Regions from separate parts of the Homo sapiens genome. Here all the other regions are linked to region 1. Evidence: promoter capture Hi-C in human tissues and cell types (Jung and others, 2019). All regions are on one chromosome and are shown on one strand. Each heading gives the region's core, a stretch centred on a gene start or on the middle of the fragment in contact. The rest is flanking DNA. Distances are from core to core; before and after follow the strand shown. Region 1 holds the start of EDNRA (endothelin receptor type A). Region 2 has its middle 9.1 kb from the start of MIR548G. Region 3 has its middle 58 kb from the start of MIR548G.

The links. Contacts are between HindIII fragments. The study calls those that stand out against the background at their distance.
Region 2: a contact is called between a fragment that was not itself captured here and the fragment with the promoter of EDNRA in region 1, in 3 of the 25 tissues and cell types used here (H1 embryonic stem cells, IMR-90 fibroblasts and bladder).
Region 3: a contact is called between a fragment that was not itself captured here and the fragment with the promoter of EDNRA in region 1, in 4 of the 25 tissues and cell types used here (dorsolateral prefrontal cortex, heart left ventricle, mesendoderm cells and 1 more).

The regions. Positions count from the first base shown.
Region 1 is chr4:147,479,303-147,483,816 of GRCh38, reverse strand. EDNRA (endothelin receptor type A) reads right to left here and starts at 2,720. Exons shown (of 8, transcript NM_001957.4): 1 at 2,441-2,720. RefSeq lists enhancers at 1,821-1,900, 1,931-2,030. The HindIII fragment of the contact is 3,954 bases long and covers 468-4,421 here.
Region 2 is chr4:147,333,508-147,337,753 of GRCh38, reverse strand. No RefSeq gene overlaps it. Among named protein-coding and RNA genes, the nearest start is that of MIR548G, 9.1 kb to the left of the region's middle. The HindIII fragment of the contact is 4,524 bases long and covers 691-4,246 here.
Region 3 is chr4:147,283,826-147,288,682 of GRCh38, reverse strand. No RefSeq gene overlaps it. Among named protein-coding and RNA genes, the nearest start is that of MIR548G, 58 kb to the left of the region's middle. The HindIII fragment of the contact is 4,986 bases long and covers 687-4,857 here.

The DNA of each region.
Region 1 (4,514 bases), core at 1,471-3,970:
GTCCAGGAGGTTAAGGCTGCAGGGAGCTATGATCGAGTCACTGCACTCCATCCTGAGCAGCAGAGTGAGACCCTGTCTCAAAAAAAAAAAAATTAAATAAATAAAAAGTAAAAAATAAAATTGAATCCTTTTTCTGAGTGTATTCAAGGTTGATGTTAACCACTTTTAGGAATTTTGACAATTATCTTGGGAAATCAGTAAAGCTTAGGTTTGGCCAATACGTGGATAAAATAAGATTTATTCAAGTTGCATAGAAAGTATAGGGTATATATAAAGTGCGAGTATTGGATACTTTTGCCTTCCCCAGAGATTTCCCCCTGAACTCTGAAATAATAATAGTATTTACATATAGTAACTTATTATATATGTATCTGTTATCTGCCTTGAGCTTTACGACTCTAGGTAGGCAGGAGCAATATCTCCATTTTACTTATAAGGAAACCAGAGTCTTGAAGAAGTATTTAGGTCAAGGTTTCAAAGCCAAGAAATGGCAGGACACATAATTTTGCTTATAGGACTTGACTCACTCTGATTAAATGGGAAAAATATCAATTTTTCAAGGCTAGAGGCAGGCCATGTATTTGTCAGCTCTGACTAGACTTAATTATAAACAGTTTGCAGTTTTTTCCTGCTTCTTATAATCTGGAGTGAGTATCTGGCCAAAAATTGATAGACCTATGAAATGACACCATTTCCATTCCAAAGGGAACACCAGGACTCCAAGAGAAAAGCTTCTTGTCATCCTCCTTTTTGGATCACAGATACAGGGGGGAGAAGAAATACTTTCATATCTTGTGCTGTTTCGTGACTAACGTCTTCCAGCTTCCCAAATGAAAGGGAACCTTCAATAACAGCTTTCTTAAAAATGAGAGAGAGAAGGCCTTTGCAGAAATGGAATGGCTCTCTGCCGGTTACAGTCGGCTGGGAACTGACCTGTGAACTGACCTGGCTACGGTGGGTACTGCTCTACTCATCAGAGGTCCTGTGGTGCTTTGAACGTTAGCATGCTGGTCTGCTTGGTTAGCTGATTATGCCAGGAGGTAAGGCCAACGCTGTGGGTTCTTAAGGCATGAGAGCCAGCTATCATTAAAACCCCCTTCCTTCCTCCTCCAACAATGACACCACTACAGAAATCATTTCTGATGACTTCTCTATCAGCTCTCCACACATGTTAAGCTGCAAAACTAAGGGATACTTGGCAAAGGCCTGTGGATGTCATATTATCATTGGCTGAAAAGTACAAAACCAAATGAAAGAAGCCCCTCAACTGCAGGTTCTTCCAAGGTGGGTCTGTAGCTCATTTCCAGGAATCTGAGTCAGGCTGTGCTTTGAATCATCACTCATAATCAGTCATAGCGCTAGTGAAGCATCTCAGGTTCAGACCTGAAGGACATGGTCTATAGATTCAGCATTCTTCCTGTTTGGAATCTGAGAGTTTGGGGAGTGCAAAAACTATTATTAAGAAAGAGGACTGAATCCTTACGCTTACACTTTAACCATTTAACATATGAGACTCTCAGGATCAAAGTTCACCTGTAATTGGTAATTTGGAAATTCAGACCTTATCAAAATGGCATGAGTTTAGAGCATTCAATTTACATGAAATGACTGCCAAGGTGTTTCTCAATTAGCTAACACATAGACAACTACAGGTGGAGGAAAAAACAAGTAAAAGTAGGAACTTTTTACAAGTTTTCTGAGGTTTTGCTCTCTGGTTAAGAAATGAGCAACTCTCCTTAGAGACAACGCCTGAGTTTAATATGCCTCCCACCCCCAACTCTATCAGGGGAAAGCCATTAGGATGATGTAAACAGAGGGTGATTATCTAGAAGCAGCCCTTGTTTTCTGCACGTGAGAAGCAACAAGTGTCCTTTAAAGGCGAGCACAGAACAAAACGCCCAGACCTCCACAGGCAGGTTTCCAAAACTAGCTACACAGGGGGTTTCCCCAAACACCTCAGTCCCTCACACCGAGTGCCCTTGGCTACCCTTGGCATACCCAGACCCAGATGTGGGGGAGGAAAAGCAAGCCAGTAAGAAAAGGCTGTGGAGCCAACTTCACAAGAAGGCGCTGGAGCAAGCCACAGAGCTTGGCGTTCCTCAAAGTTCTTGCATGCCTGGGGAAAAGGGGTCACCCAGGGAAAACTATTGGGCTTCCTCTTCCTAAAACTCCGAATCCTAAACCCTAACGTGGAGAGGTGAAGTTCCCCGAACTCTACACGTGTCCGCAGCGCACCCCTCACGGAAGGCGCCCGCCTCCCCGCGCGCCCTGGGGCAAGTGGGTGCCAGCCCCTGCTGCGACGGGTCGCCCAAGCTGCAGGGCGGTCGGGCCAGAACGTTCCCAGCTCTCGTCTTCTCCCGACCGAGGGGCCCAGGCAGCGTCTCCGCCATCCCCGCACCCGCCCCAGTCCCAGTCCCCGATAAGAAAGACTTGCACCGACCGTGGAGCTCGGCGTGCGCAGACAGCTGCCGGGTCCGCGCGGCGCCTGGGCCAGAGGAAGCCGGAGCCGGCGAGGGTGGGTGGCGCGGAGGGTGGCCGGTGTCCCGGGCTCCGGCGCGGCGGCGGCTTCGGCTGCACAGCTTCCCCGGCTTCAGAAAACCTCCTGGGCACTGCTTCTCCCGGGGAGGTCTCGCTGGGACCCCAATCCCCGGCGACGACCGGGTGGGATGGATGAAGCCTCTCCACCGCCTCTCCACAATCGTCAGACCAGCGGGATGACTGTACGCGCGCGCGAGGGCTCGCACGAAAAAGAAAACTCCGGAGGAACACGCCTCCAGTCTGTCCTCCCCGTCTCCTCCCAAAGCTCCAGACCTTCCACTCCACTCTGGGACCGCAAGAGCGTCCTAACCTTCCAGCTATCCTGGGACGCGGCCACTAAAAAGCACAAAGCTGCCGCCCCCTTCCAGGCCCTGAAGGGCAGGAGTCTTTTTTAACTATTTCCTTCCTGAAAGAAAAGGTGGGGGATGTGGAGGAGAGAGGGTAGAGTTTGACAGACAAGACTCAGAATTCCGAAAGGCCTTGCAGAGGAACCCATCCTCTTAGTGCAGGCAGATTTGATCTGTGACGGAACAACTGGACACAGAGCCAGGGCCCACGGGTGGTTTCTTCTCCGTCTTCCCTGCCGCCTTTGCTTGGCTTGCGTGCTCCCTCTTAAGCTTAGAGGCCGTTGAGGAGCCGAAGTGGACAGCAGTTTACTGGATCAGGTGGTTTGCTTCTATCTTGTCCCTTGTAGCCAGCATCCCACGGCTACAGACCTCCAGCCCAGGGCAAAGAAGGAGCCTCAGGAGAGACTATGGAAGGTTCCAGCGCGTGGCTCCGTGAAACCTCAAGAAATTCAAACAATGAAGAAGCCGACCTTACAGAAAGTGGGTCTCAACGTCTTTATCACGGCAGATACTTTATCCTAAATTGGGGGTGGGAGAGGAGATGAGGGACAAAGGCCACTGCCTGTGACATGTGAGTAAAAACTGGGGTCTCCTCAGGGAAGGCCTGCCTTGGAGTCCTTCAGTGCACTGCTAGAGTCAGCACATGGTAGAAGTGTGAGGTTGGAGCACTGGTCATGTTATATCCCATGCTGTTCCGGCTATCTGCTGCAGCTAAACAAATTACTATAAAACGTAGTGGCTTAAAATAACAACACTCATTTACTCTGCTTATCAGTCTGCAGTTTGGGCAGAGCCTGTCTGGGACAGCTCGTTTTTGCTCCATGTAGCAGGGGCTGGAGGATCCACTTCCAAGACAGTTCACTTGCTTGGTGTTGAGTGTTAGTTTTTCTCCACGTGCGTCTCTCCACAAAGACTTGTGGAGACTTGTGGTTTGGGCTTCCTCACAGCATGGTGGCGGGGATCCAAGAGTGAATGTCCCCAGAGACAGAAAGTGGAAGCTGCCAGTTTCTTAAGGGCTGGGCCCAGAAACTGGCACCGTGTCATTTCTGCTTGATTCTATTAGTCAAGCAGTCACAAATCCCAGATTGAAGGTGAGGGTATATAGAGCCCAACCCTTAGTGTGAGGAGTGTCAAAGAATTTAGGGACCATTTTGTAAAACCATCAAAGAGATCTACAGAAAACCACCATTGAAAGAGGCCTTAATAGTCATCTAGTAGGGTTAGACTAGATATTACCCTGTTCACTAATCTTACAGCTTCTCTAGGAGGGAGAATCAGCCAACCAGAATAACTAATAGCTTTTATAAGTGCCATTGTTTATATTAAAAAAAGGTGACCCTTTGGGCATGTGGCTTGGCAAGCTGACAATATTTTCGGGAAAGAAAAACTTACTGCTTCCTCCCAAAAGAGGCAGTTCACATCTTGGCCCGTGAAACATGTGCTGGATTTCAGCCCTTATTCACTCTGTGGCCAGACACACTTGGACAGTGCATCACCTGCATATCTGAATATGTCAATCTGTCCAGTCTTTGCTAGAACACATTCATCATGACCCACCTATTGAGACAGCTGATCTCACTGTGGTGTAGGACTAGTTACTAAAAATTCTTCCTTCACACCTATTAGGAT
Region 2 (4,246 bases), core at 1,703-4,202, 150 kb after region 1:
TTCCTCTATCAAATTGAATGCCTCTTTTCTTGATACCTGTTGCACTTGCATTTTCTTAATGTTTATGTTTCAGTCCTGAGTGTAAACTTTATGAGTGCAGGCATGGTGACTATCTTGTTTTCTGTTGCTTAATGCTTGGCTTAGAGAACATTTTAATAAATATTTATTGAATGAAAGAAAATTTATCTGAGCAAAGTTTCACCTGGCTGATAATTTTCTGTGTTCTTAAATGCCTTAATGTATCCCTTTAAAATATGAACAATATTCAAAAGGGTCTCCCTGAGCTGCTAAAACAAGACATCATTTTAATAAGATAAACAATAAATTTGTTGTTAGTGAAAGGATTTATATTTTTCAGCAGCCTACAAAAAGACAAAGACAAAAGCAAAGGCAAAGGCAAAAAGGTAAAAAGGCAATATTATAGAATCACATCAACTGATGAACTTCCCAGTATTAAGTATAGTATTGTTATAATCAGTTTATAAAATTTGATTGACAACTTTTAGAAATCATCTCTATTGGATAGAGTCTGTCTCTGCATGGTTAGGTAAAATTTGTAGTTTCAATTCTTATAATCTAAGTTCTACTTAAATAGAAAGTACTTTTAGCTTCCAAATAAGTAGAAAGAGAACTCTATTGATGGGTTAATAGAAAACAAGGGGTGCCCATCCTAGAAACTCTACTAGCCATTTTAGACACAGCAAAATTATTCAAATGGCTATACCATGGATTCTGCTTGTATATTTAAGGATAGAAAGTCTTTTATAACTGGGCTCATGCATCAAAAAACATTAAGATGAAGTTTAGGGCCACCCTGTATTAACTGGCATCAAATAGTCTAAATTTATAAACTAATACTGAAAATCTGGAATTGCATCAGAACTGTATTATGGTATAGGCAAGAAACCTCTGAATTAATGCTGTCCTTAAACAAGTTTCATTGATGAATGTGTTTGCAAATGGAAGTCAACTCTGGTCAATAATTAGAAAGATAACTCTTGATATTTTACAGAGTAACTGTTAACTAAGTTTATTATGTCTTAATAATTATAAAGATCACATGAAGTGCAAGAAAACATTCATTCATTCAACAAATATTTATTATTGAGTGCCTACTATGTTCCAGGCACTTCTCCAGGTCAATGAAATGCAGCAAGAACAAACTATATCTTAGCATGTTCTCTTTAAGAACAAATTGTACGATGGCAAAGGGCTGTGCAAAATCTCATTAAGAAGAAGTGACTGACATCATTGGGAATTAGTGTTGGTCTGGCTACAGGAAATTGTGAACAGATTGCTCATGGTGTTTTCTGAACAACTAGGAGCTTCAAAAAGGGGAAGCAGTGTCACGTATTTAATCTAGATTCAGCTGTTATAGCAGTTTACTTCAAGGCTGGAAATGTTCTTTTTCTCTAAGGAAATTGGGATGCACTGAACTAGGCTAATTGAACTCACTTCTCACTCAGCCACAGGTGTTCCCTTTGGTGGAACTGACCTCTCTCTTCTTTTCTCTCCGTAGGATCAGGGGAGACTTAGCCAGGCATAGTGAGTTGTTATTAATAAGACCAGAGAATAATTATATACAGAATTGACAAAGGCTATTGGCAGTCTTAGAAATTAAGGAAAAACTACATTTCAATCAGATTTGATAAGGCAAGATACAGTAAAAATTAATTTCTGGGACAAAATGGAAGGGATTTTGGATGTGCAATCTAGATCAGTGGTTCTAAAACTTGGATGGGCATCTATATCACCTGTTGAACTCACTAGATTGTAGGTGCTTCAACTCAACCACTGTGATTCCAATGCACACCGGTTTGAGAAACATGCGCCCAGGTATTAAAATCCATTTGGTGATGAACTCCCCACCATACTTTCTCAAGGATTTCTAGAGTCATTGGGTGAGACAACGATGTTTTTTTTAATGGTGCCTGTAGTAGATTCCTAATTTCTAAAAACCCATATAACAAATAAAAGCAAAAATAATCACAAAATTACAACATGGTAAATTCTTACTGGTTAGTAGATTATATTATCTAAGGAAGTCATCTATGACTACAGGGGCTATGGTTCAATCCTAGATCAAGTATTCCTTTGATTAATTGGGAAACACTGTAAAATTTGTCTTTTTATTGTTTTCCAAGCACTACAATTTAGTGTCTGGGGCCTGAACCTTTGCATCATTGACTATGGGGATAGAGATCTTTAAAACTTAAAAGAGCTTTTACTTAAAATGTATACCAACAGTGTATGAAATCAAGTGAATCAACTAACAGTGTGGAGATGTGAACTGGGTTAATGGGGTTGTTACCGCTATTTGGTAAAGAATGACTTTAAGACTGAAATCCAAAGACAGTCTTGTGGGTTTTTTTGTCTCTCCTTTGAGTGTTACTCAATTTAATGTATTTCCTGACAAAACCAAATCCCATTAAGAATGCTATATTATATAAACCCTTGGTTAGACATGGTTGCAAAGATTTCTTTCTGAAAGATGGTAGAAACAATTTTTCCTTTGATGTTGTCTCTCAGCATTCTGAATTTGATTTGTGAAGGTATTTTGTGCAGCACATCAATCTTTGCTAAAATTCTTCAAGTTTCTCTTTGCAAAAACCAGCAGAAATTTACCAGAGTAAATTATGAAACATTGCTGCAGTTGACTCCAACAAACCAGAGTTCCACAACAAAATGAATGTACAATACAAAAAATAAAATTTAGTGGGCCTTGTTATTGTTTTACATATAGTTTGGCCTGAAGGAAAAGTGAAACTAAGTTATAAATTAAGTTGTATATCATCTAATAGAATGAGGTTTTGAAGTAGTAATAGAATTTTGAAACTCTCTGAATTCTTGTCTAAAACAAAAATCATCCCTTCTTTTTGCTGTATTCTCTTGAATCAGAAGCCTATGTTTACCAGCTGCTCTAAGTCACTCTTTCCTTTATTGCAGTGTTTGACACTATAATACCTTAAAGTGGGGGTTGCTTATCTTGGGAGTGGTGGTAAATGTTGAGTGAATGTGGGAAGGAATTATAGATGTTTAACAACTGTTTGCAAAGGTTCCAGGGTTCTTGGGAGGGAACAGGAAATATTAATTTTATACTAGCTCCCAAAGCCAAAAGGAAGAAGAAAAAAAAGAAGCTTCTTAATCTGTTTAGATTACCTCTAAGGAGATGAGTCATGAGTGAAATTCAGGATTAATATACAAGAAGAGCTCCTAAGAGACCGTCTAGACTACAGGCCATCTTTCTCTTTCACAGAACTCCTCCTGAATTTTTTTTTTAAGAGAGGAAGTTCTCTGCCATATTTTAAATACTTAGAAGAAAAGGGAATTAAGGAACTGAGTAATCAGCCCAGTATCTAATAGACTTCATCATCAAAATAATGTTCTTTGATTTGTTTTAACTTCTCTGATGGCAATTTGCATTTTCTTAGGATGTGTACACTCAGATATATTACAATTGGATTTATATAGTTTATTTTTCTGCCTATTTAAAAAATTTGGTCAAAAGTCATTTTTAATTGTAAACCTTTGCAAAATCACTATTCTATGTCTTAACACTTCAAGGCCTATGTTAATTTAGCTATGGTAGTTCTCTAAGTCATCAACACAGATATCCCTTTCTATTGTCATTGATACATTTTAAACTACTATTGGGAATTTTTCTTAGCAATATGATTTTATGTCTTCCATATATCTTTTAGGGTAGTTATGAAAAATGTAAACATATAATTCAGCTAAGATGGCCCAGTTAGTGAGGGATGAATCCTCTGTATATTCCCCCAACTCCAGTGCTACTTAAAAGAAAGGAAAATAGTTAAAAAATTTTGTTTATGCAACTTCTACAAATAATATAAATGAATGCATTGCAGACCCAGCAATTTCATAATATGAGCAATTATGAAAATTTTCTTATGGATATACTGGGACTGGAAGCCGATTGTATTTCCTTTTCCTTATGACTCCCGCTCTACAGGGGATGGCTCACTCACCTCACTGCATTGCAGTGCTTTGGGACAGTAGAATTTGTCCTCAACCAAATTGGCCCCTTAACTCCTGCTACTTTGGAAGCCATTTTCTGCTGTTGTAGAAAATCAGATTTTCCTTGATGAGCACTTTTGCCTGGCTGGAAAGTAGGCGGGACTTCTCCTGGGAATAAGCATTTGTTCTGAGTTGCTTGCTGGGAGGCATGCTTCCTTTGGCTGTCAGATCTCCACCCAGGCATGGGATGAGGCCTTTCCATGGAATG
Region 3 (4,857 bases), core at 1,930-4,429, 200 kb after region 1:
CTATTTCTCTATCTTTCCCTCCCACACATTCCTTTGCCTTTTTTCTCCTACTGAGGCTGTTGGCTGTGTGATACCTTTTGTGAAGTTTGTTTCCAATGACAGACCTTGATCACATATAGAAACACCCCTAAAACTATGTACCGTGAAAAGCAAAAACAACCAACCAACCAACAAACCAACAAACAAAACCTTAGCCAATGCCCAGCTTCTGTAATGATATATTGTTAGAATTTCAGACCAGCTGGCATATCTTTTGCATATATTATTTGCTCAGTGCTCCAATTCATTTATACAAAATAAAGAAGAGGTTCTGATTTATAATATAAACCTAAACCAGAATTAATCACTCATTGTCTTGGTCCCCACAGTTGTGCTCAACTACCTATCCTTATTTTGTATCTATCTTTAATAACTGTTTTCTGATTATAAATATATTCTGCGAATCTTGTATCACACGTTTATGTAACAGCTAAAGCAGCACTAGAGCAATTACTGGCAGCTTCAGACTATTTTATAAAGGAGCTTATTGGAAAAGTATGGCAATCTAGTGGGAATTGGGAGATGGGGCATTTGTATTGAGATTCTACATTAGAAAAGTAATAAGAGATTACAGGGATGGTGGTGGTGGCCTATGTTCTCCTCCCTCCCAGCCACTTGTTGCCACTGCCACTGAAAGCAGTGTTTTGCGGTGGAACTATTCTCCATTTCTTTACTGGCAGCTCTTCTTCTATCAGCTGCTTAACTGTTATTCTTTAAAGCAATAGTTCTCAAACTTTAATACATCAGAATCACTTGGAAGTCTGGTTAAGACAGATTTCTGAGCCCGCCCCTAGAATTATTGATCTAGTAGGTCTGTGGTGAAACCTGAGAATTTGCACTGCCAAGTTCCCAGGTCATGCTGCTGCTGCTGTTCTCTAGACAACACCAAGAACTGCTGCCCTGAAGTTGAGATCCTGAGGACATGGTGAGGCCAGGAGCCAAGACAGCAAAAGAGATCGTCAAACTGCTTTGCATGAGGCAATAACAGGAATATATTTCTCCTCTTGAGAAAGAGGAAATGAAGAGAGAGAAGGAGGAAGAGAAGTGGAGTGAGCAAGATGGCCTGAGGCTGAGGGGTCAGATAAACAACAAGGCAATTATTGAAATGCACCTGGGAGAGCGGTCCCCGCAAATCTTTAAAAAATCCCTCCTCCATATCTGGACAAATCTTAAAATAACACCACATTTACTCATTTCCTTGTAAAGTGTGTATGTGTATGTGTGTCTGTGTGAGAGAGAGACAGAGACAGAGAATGTGCACCTGCCTGTGTGAGGAGATTAAGACAGATGCTGAGTTTGCTATGGGGCTGATGTGACTCAGAGCAGAGGCAGCTCCTGTAAGATGTCGAGATGATCAGTAGATTGAAGAAGTAGTAGGCTGTAGCCAGAGGTGATCTATAACCTATCAGTCCCTACACCTCACGCCTTCCTTCAGTGGAATTTATAGTTATTTTGGAGAAGGATTTGGGCCTGCACAGGACATGAAAATGGAGCTTTGAATCAATCATACCTTGTTTTCTGAGGGCCAGAGAGGCCTCAGCTAACATCTGGGTTACTTTTTCTTATGGTTCTCATCTACTTTTGTGTTTATTCTTAAGTCTTTACATCTGGTAAGCAGATGGCAATACACTTCTTCAAATCGCAACCTTGAGAGCCTCCTGTCTTCTCCTCCTGAATTATTTGGTTACTATATGGAGGTAACAGTTCCTTGCTACAGGTCATTTTTATTCTGACCCCCAGGTGAAGCTTGGATATTCTTAAGACTCTGGGAAGTGGGGGCCGCCCCAGCTGCCCTATATTTGAGGAAGACCAGGAGGACAGTGCTTTGACAATTCTGGGCTGACTGGAGAATGAGAGATGTTGTGGGGCCCCATGAGCATCAGGCCTGCAACGTCCTGTCACCATCTCTGCTGCAAATTCATCTTGTTATCCTCTTTCTCCATAAAAGTCTGTGAGCCTGTGAGGGGAGGGAAGGAAGAAACATCTGCCTTGGGATTTAAGGCCAACAGGCCTGTTTCCTGTCCCCTCTTCCTTGGTTGCCCCTTTGGTCTCCATGCAGATGCATTGCTCTATGAATTTATTTGTCGTTTCCAGCCTTGACTGGTTCAGAATGCTTTTAACCATTAGAAAAAGAAACAACTAGTTAAAGGATTTAATTAAAAGCTAATGATATACTTCAATGTGGTGCTAATTAGAGACATGGAGCTTGTTGTTCCTTAACATCTTGTTCACCAAGAGGACATTAACTTATGAAAAGTTGGAGAGATTAAGCATGGAAACCTTTGATGGTGGTGATGGCGGTAGTTCTGATTGGTGAATCAGACCAATCTTGCCTTCAGGAATCCTACATAGAGTTTGGTGGTTCTCCAGAGACTAAGTTCAACTACTGATGCAGTTTCATATACTGAGTTCCTTCTCAGGGTAAAAATGTCTTTCCCAAGCACTGAAAATTTATGTCAGAAATGGAGTCTTGGCATGTTCTAGAAAATGGAGAGTGCCTCATGAGAGCTGCTGGAGCAAGGCATTCTTTTTCCTGCTCCTGGTATGCCCCACTCTTCCCCTTCCCTGCTGATTTTCATATAGCTTCTCCCCACTTGCCGAGAATACGTTTTCAGGATGGTTATGACTTCTCTACACACAAAAGGGCAGACATGTGAGCACTGGGTTCCACAGTTACTGTCAGTGCTGGGCATCGTACCAACACCAACAGAATCCCCATCTGGGTTCTTCTCAGAGGTTATGCAGTCCTGATTCAACAGACAATAAACAATAGGGAACAAGGATAATGGCCATTGGAGTTGCAAAAGAAGTGCCTGTTTTCATTATTTATACTCTCTGGCACTCCCTTATGGCTCCTTTATTCAAACATCGGTAGACTGAAACAAAAAAGGATTCTTGGAAGAAATAATTATTTAAAAAATGATGAAAAGCATTTCTACTAATTCTGTAAACTTGCTAAAATAATAAATTATTGGAAGAATATTGGGTAATGTAAAGGATTGGTGGAAGAACCGAACCACTAAGCCTGGGGAAATCAGAAAATAGAGGCCTTGTCTTTATTTGGGATTTCAAATTCCAGATGAGAGAATTTGATTGGACCAGACAGGGTGTGTTGTGCCTACTTTGGTTCTAACCATCCACATTGTCAGGAGATCGGACAGGGAGCGTAGCTGCTGTGATTGGGAGAATCCTGGTGAGTTGGGCAGCCTCTTGCAACATGTATGTTCTGCATTGGTCAATCATAATTTTAATCAAGTTAGCGGCTATTAAATGGAATGTGCCTAAACTTAATGCCCTGCATTATCTTGCTTGAAACATGAATAATCTGTTACCAAACTAGGGAAAAAACATAACATCCTCTAGGCAAGAATGGTAGTTCTTAAACTGTGGTCTCCAGACCATCAGCATGGACATGATGGAGAACTTGTTGGAAATACAAATTGTTTTTCCCATTCCAGATCTAGTGAATTCCTGGTGAGACACAAAAAGCATGTTTTAACAAATACTCTAGATGATTCTGATACATGCAAAAATTTAACGTGTATGAATCACCTAGGGGTGTTGTTACAGTACATATTCTTTTTTAGTAGGTCTAGGGTAAGGCTGATACTCTGCATTTCTAACAAATTTCCAGGTTACCCCATTGGTGCTGATGCAGGGACAGACTTTGAGTAGCAAAAATAAAGATATTGAAGGAGAAAACTTATATCACTATTTCAAACTGTTGAAATTCTGTAGACAAAAGAGCAATGAAAACCTTAAAGTCCTGTATGAATAAATTATTATTATTGCTATTGGATGATACTAGTTTTCATAAATCTTCAGAACATTGTGTATTTTGGGGGTAGAGGGGACTCTTATCTTCAACTGGCAGGTCTGAAGACAGGATTGGTTATAAAGTTTATGTAGCAAGTCACCTTTAAGTCAAGTATATAAATGCCCCATTTGTCTTAATCTCAACATATAATAGCGTGTAGCAAGAGTAGTATTTATATCTCCAGCTATCACTTGTCTCGTTCATGACAGAAATAACGTTCCACATTATTTAAAAATTATAACTCAAAGCATAATGCTAATGAAGTTGCCAAGCTATGACCCAAAAGAAGGCAGAGCCTGGCCAGATGGCTCAAGTTACTGATTACAACTTGTTGGGTCTTTCCTGGCCCAGATTGATCTTATCTAGTGTTTTTAATCTCTGGCTATTTGGTGAATAATCATGAAAGCTTTTGAGCATCTGGTTCAATTTCCAGCAATTTGCTATTAGTGATACTCAAATCTGATTGCAGTGATTTGGCAATGACTTAATGGGAGTAGGGAAAGATTATCTAACTGGGTTTATGAACCTTGCTAGCTAGGGGTCTCTTAGATTATGTTTGCCAATATTTTCCTTTCATTTCATTGCTGTTATTATCAGATGACTGTGTTTCTTGGAGTTTTTGCTTTTGAAGATTATAGATACTTTCATTTCACCTAATGCATTAAAAAAATTTAAGAGGACCTCCTCCACACAAAAATCTCCCACTAGGTCAACATTAATGTACATAAAAAGATCTCTCATCATAACTAAAATTAAAACAAGAACTAAGACTTACTGACAGAGTAATTCTGTTGTATTCCTCAGAGAGGCCAAATAAACCTGAGAATAAAGACAAACAAGGGAACATAATTTATTTAGTCTTTCAAAATTTATCATAAAACTTAGTAGGAAAGAGAATTAAATCATTAGTAATTGAGGAGTTCCCCCTTTCCATAAAGTCCTTGCTTGCAATCAAGAAATGAAGAGCAGAGATATGTAGGCATTTTTCTGGAGAAAGAAAC